Linked DNA regions of Homo sapiens: region 1 is linked to region 2. Evidence: promoter capture Hi-C in 16 types of primary human blood cells and fetal thymus (Javierre and others, 2016). All regions are on one chromosome and are shown on one strand. The core of a region is centred on a gene start or on the middle of the fragment in contact, and the rest is flanking DNA. Distances in the headings are between cores, read along the strand shown. Region 1 has its middle 19 kb from the start of ALOX15B. Region 2 holds the start of TMEM256 (transmembrane protein 256).

Region 1 (2,700 bases), core at 110-2,609, 650 kb after region 2:
CCTGAGCGTGGTCGTTGTGAAGAACGGTCTGTCCAGGAACTCCCGAGAACGTGTGGTCGGCCTTGCGGTAAGCTTGTGCACTCGGAGCATTCCAGGGACACCATGGGACAATCCAAAAGTAAACATTCTGCATATTTACATTTTATTAAGCTCCTCTTAAAGAGGGCAGGAATTAAGGCTAGCACAGAAAATTTGATTACTCTGTTTCCAACAGTAGAGCAATATCGTCCTTGGTTTCCTGAACATGGTACCATGGACTTCAAAGATTGGGAACAGGTGGGAATTGCCTTAAAACAAGTTTGTAAGGAAGGAAAATTTATCCCCCTAACAGCCTGGTCAAACTGGGCTATAGTTAAAGCAGCCTCGGAACCGTTTCAATCGGAAAATGAGGCTTATCCTCCAGCAGAAAGAATTTCTGCAGAGGAAGGTGGTGATGCTGCTGAAGGAGGAGAGGATAGTGAAGAAGATTTTGAGGAAAATACAGACAAACCTGGAGATGAGTTAATTTCTTTTGAGGAGCACGTGGGACCTTCAGCTGCTCCTAAAATAGAGAAGCCATATATGCCAAGATGTTTAAAACAAAGAAGGGCCTTGAGGAGCAGTCGGCTCCTCATTGGGATCATCCGGAGTGGCCGCCTCCAATAAAGCAATGTAGCTTGGAGCCTTGGAGGTCTGAATCTCAAATTTGCCCTGTTTCACGAATGAATGAATTGTGGCCTCAGGAACCACGAGCGCATGGTGTAGCACCAGTACAACATAAGGCTGCACTGCCATCTAATGTTAATGAATCGCCATTACAGTTTACTATTCGGCAGGCTAGATTAGCCGGAGATCTTGATGCCTGGCAGTTTGCAGTAGTTTTGCAACCCCCACGACAGCAAGGTGGAGCCCATCAAGCGGTATGGGAACCATTTTCTTTTAAGCTGCTCAAAGATCTTAAAGCAGCTGTTGGTCAGTATGGTCCCAATTCGCCTTTCATCCGATCGCTATTGCAATCTGTGGCTCAGAATAAGCTATTGACTCCGTGTGATTGGGAGATTTTAACGAAAGTTACACTTTCGCCCTCCCAATTTCTTCAGTTTAAGACTTGGTGGACCGACGAGGCTCAAAATCAAGATCGAAAAAACCGTGCTGCTAATCCTGCTATTGCCATTACATTTGAACAACTTCTAGGAATAGGGGGTCAATGGGGAACTGTAAACAACCATCAGGACTTCGAGATGATGCCATTGAACAAATTCGCAATTGCTGTTTGAGGGCATGGGAGAAAATTCAGGATCTGGGAACTACTTATCAGTCTTTTAATTCTATTAGACAAGGCTCAAAGGAACCATATCCTGATTTCATTGCTCGCCTTCAAGACGCAGCACAGAAGGCTCTCACTGATGAAAGTGCCAGGAAGGCCGGGTGCGGTGGCTCATGCCTGTAATCCCAGCACTTTGGGAGGCCGAGGTGGGCGGATCACCTGAGGTCGGGAGTTGGAGACCAGCCTGACCAACATGGAGAAACCCCGTCTCTACTAAAAATATAAAAATTAGCCGGGCGTGATGGCACATGTCTGTAATCCCAGCTACTCAGGAGGCTGAGGCAGGAGAATTGCTTGAACCCAGGAGGCGGAGGTTGCGGTGAGCCGAGATCACGCCACTGCACTCCAGCCTGGGTAACAAGAGCGAAACTCCGCCTCAAAAAAAAAAAAAAAAAAAGAAAGAAAGAAAGAAAGTGCCAGGAAGGTGATTGTAGAATTATTGGCTTGTGAGAATACTAACCCTGAATGCCAGTCAGCTATTCACCCAGTGAAAGGAAAGGTTCCGGTGGGAGTTGATGTGATTAATGAATATATCAGGGCATGTAATGGAGTTGGTGGAATCATGCATAAGGCTATGATAATGGTTCAAGCCACGACAGAGTTAAAAGTGGGAGGTCCAATTAAAAACTTTTCAGGCAATTGTTACAATTGTGGGCAATTTGGACACACAAAAAAGGAACGTAAGAACAAATCGAACAAACAGGCAAGATATAATCAAATAAAAGAACCACCTGGCTTATGTCCCAGGTGCCAGAAGGGTAAACATTGGGCTAATCAGTGTCACTTCAAATTTGACAAAAATGGCCAACCGTTACAACCGCAGTCGGGAAACAGGAAGAGGGGCCAGCCTCAGGCCCCGCTCCAAACGGGGGCATTCTCACTCCAGCAGTTGGTCCCTCAGTCGGTCATTGCCTCTAGTCCAACCACCATCATTGTCTCTTGCCCAACCACCACAGTAACACAATTGGCGCCAGCTACAGCAGGGAGTACAGGCTTAGATTTATGTTTCCCAAAAGCTATCTCTCTGCTTCCAGGGAAATCCCCTCAAAAAGTCCCCACTGGAGTATTTGGCCCTTTACCTGATGGACAGTTGGACTTGTTTTAGGAACATCTAGTCTAAACTTAAAAGGAGTTCAGATTCATACTGGGCTGATTGATTCAGATTTTGTGGGAGAAATTCAATTGGTTATTAGTTCCAGTATTCCTTGGAGTGCAAACCCAGGAGATAGAATTGCTCAGCTGTTGTTATTACCTTATGTAATAGTAGAAAAAAGTACAGTAAAAAGAGAAAGTGGTTTTGGCAGTACTGACAGTGAAGGAAAAGCAGCCTATTGAGTAAATCAAGCTTCTAAAAACAGACCTGTGTGCACAATGATTCAGGGAAAACAGTTTGA
Region 2 (2,700 bases), core at 127-2,626:
AACCACAAGATGAGCTTATTAAAATACAGATTCTCAGGCCCGAAAGAGTGCTTCAGTAGGAATCTGTGTTATTTCAAGCATTCTTTATGACTTTGATGCCCACCAGGGTAAGAACATTATAATAAGTTAACTTAAAGTGACCAGAATCCCCAGACCTAAGGCTCACTGATTAAGTCTTAGGAAATGGAGGGAGTTCAGAGGTTGAATCCCCACCCTTCGTCCTCCAAGAGGTTAGATGAACAAAGACTCCAAAGTTTATTTGCCTTTCCTTTTTAATCCTCTTCTTACTCCAACTCTTTAAAAAAAAAACTGCCCAGAAAACCCAGTAATTAAGCAAAAGGGAGCTCAAAGAGCCAAGGCAAGCCAGCCCAAGAGTAGCAGGGTCCCTCCCGCAGGGGCCAAAGTCTGGATGCTGGGGTCTCCACTCAGAGCCTGGTAGTAAAAGCTGGTGCAGAATAAGGTCGTTCCGGAAGCTAGCAATAACCCAGCCTGAAGGAGACACAGCACAGAAAACAGGATTGTTAAGAACAGGGCAGGCTGAGAGGGAGTGTGTGGGGCTTGGTCAGGGTTAGGCGCAGGGAAAGATTACCCAGAGTGGCTTTCTGCAATGGGGCACCCCTAACAGGGCCAGGCTGTGTAAGAAGTGGTGTTTGTTGGCCTTGTCAAACAGCTGTAAGAAAAACAGAAACGAAGGGATGTCGTAGGCAATACAGGTACTGAGATCCCCTGATGACACAAGGGACCAAAGTTCCTTCCCCCACCCCACCCTTGAAGTCCCAGCTTGATCCCAGGCCTTTGGCTTACAGAGCCTTTGGCCTTTGCTGCTCCAGAGATCCGCGGCTCGCCCCACCCTCTCCCCGCCCACTTCCCCCAGGGACCCCAGACTTTGTGCCTTCGTAGACCCACGAGTCAGGGAGCCCCAGCGCAGTTACTTCACCTCCTTCCCGTAGGCATCTGGGAATTGGGCGCCTGTGGAGAAAAGAAGCAAAGGTTAGCGGTCCTAGTGCCAGCCCTGACCGCCCCCAATCCGGGGGGACCCAGGTGGACATTGGCGAGAAAGGGCACCCCCCCCCCCGCCCCAGGAAGCTTCCGATTGGTGGGAACACGCTCGGGCAGTACTGGGAACCAATTGGACCCAGCTGGGGGACTTTAAAAGGTTTAGGGCTCCGCGGACTGTCTGATAAACGAGAGGCCGGGCACCTCCCATAGGTTACGCCCTTGCAGCAGACCCCAGAGGACGCCCCAAGTACAGTCCCATCTTCGTCCCCAGCCCCCTGACCGTGCGCCCCGTAGGAAGCGAAGCCTAAGGCCGCAGCTCCGGACAAGGCGCCCAAGCGGCGGAAAGCTGCAGCTGGCCCGGCCATAGCTGTAGAACAGGACGCACCGGACCAACGCCGCCCAGGCCACCCAAGAGGCCAGCCAATCCCGACCGCCCATGCAAATAAGGTTCACAGGCGCCCAATCCGGGCCGTGTTCATTTCAGCATTGCGCTCTTCACCCGCCTTTGTAAAACCGCTGCAGAGTGGCGAAGACGTCTGGCGGGCGGAGAAACCAGCACCAATTAGGAACAGAGGAGCTAAGCAGTGGGGGGGCGGGGTTGAGGGCGGGACTAGGGGGATTTGCGTCAAGGATTGGCCCACTTTCCAAGTTGATCGCCTCTTCGAACCCCCCACCCCCATGCTCCGGCCAATTTCCAAAGATCCCGGTCTTCTCTCAAAGTTCCGCCCCTTTTTCCACAGGCTCCTCCTGTTCAGCTTCAAATCAAACCCACTACCAAAAAGAGGCGGCCCGAAAGATAGCAAAGCCCCACCTATTGCCAGTAAACCCCGCCCACTGCACAAATGGCCCCTCCCCCATGTCTGAAGGCTCCGCCTTCTTTGTATGATGCCCCGCCCCCTGTAGTTAAGATATTCTCCCCCCCGCCAGCCCTCCGAGACCGCGAGAGCCCCGAGGGTGGGAGATCCGGGGGAATGTCTCCACCCTGCCCTGGCCCGCTACGTCCATCTGTCCGTCTGTCCGCTCCCGCCTCTTCCCACCATCTCCAATCCCCCCATTCTCCGGAGGGCGGGCGGGCAGGCGGGTGCGAGCGGGGGGTGCGAGCGGGGGGTGTGCGCCGCTCTCTCGGCAGGGGGCGGGGGAGGCGGCCGCGCGGTGACGCGCGGGGCTGCTGCGGCTGCTCCGCCGGCGGATCATCACTCTCGGGCTGGGATGGACGCGGGGCGGGCCGGCCCTGGCGCGCGGAGCCAGGAGTCCGGGCCTCCCGGCTGCTGAGCGTCCCTCGAAGCCTCCCCTCACCCCCGCCTTCCCTCCTAGGATCCGCGCTGACCCCCGCCCCGGGGCTCTGGACTCGGCTCCCGCCCTCCTCTGACTCCCCGGACCTCCCCCTCACGCCCGCCCTCGGGATCGACTAGATCCCTCCCCCTCCCCGAGGATTCCGGCTGGATCCCTGCCCCTGCACCGCGGATCCTGCGCTCCCGGGCCCCGGGCCCCTGGGGATTAACGTGGACTCCTCCTCCAGCACCCGATCCTTAGGATCCTCCGCCTGGACCGCCTTCTGGTCCCTCGAAGCCGGCCCACGGAACCAGCGGATCCTCAATCTAGTCCTGTCCCGTTGCCCCCTCCTTTCTCTATCGTCCCTACTGCGGGGTTCCCTGTTCTCGGGCTCCCCCTGATCCCATCCCCTAGCTCTCCTTTTCCCGG

Evidence for each region. The method cuts DNA at HindIII sites, captures the fragments that hold promoters and counts their contacts. A CHiCAGO score of 5 or more calls a contact.
Region 1: a contact is called between a fragment that was not itself captured here and the fragment with the promoter of TMEM256 in region 2, in 1 of 17 cell types (activated CD4 T cells). The highest score is 5.7, in activated CD4 T cells.

Annotation. Positions count from the first base shown.
Region 1 is chr17:8,057,082-8,059,781 of GRCh38, forward strand. No RefSeq gene overlaps it. Among named protein-coding and RNA genes, the nearest start is that of ALOX15B, 19 kb to the left of the region's middle. RefSeq lists enhancers at 596-1,113, 597-666. The HindIII fragment of the contact is 2,579 bases long and covers 71-2,649 here.
Region 2 is chr17:7,402,721-7,405,420 of GRCh38, forward strand. TMEM256 (transmembrane protein 256) reads right to left here and starts at 1,377. Exons shown (of 4, transcript NM_152766.5): 1 at 1,280-1,377; 2 at 938-969; 3 at 590-670; 4 at 255-489. The coding sequence starts at 1,364. The coding sequence ends at 346. It overlaps TMEM256-PLSCR3 (TMEM256-PLSCR3 readthrough (NMD candidate)), which reads right to left and starts at 1,411. Exons shown (of 10, transcript NR_037719.1): 1 at 1,280-1,411; 2 at 938-969. It also overlaps a transcript of NLGN2 not described here. RefSeq lists an enhancer at 1,186-1,365 and a silencer at 1,856-2,185. The HindIII fragment of the contact is 6,317 bases long and covers 1,085-2,700 here.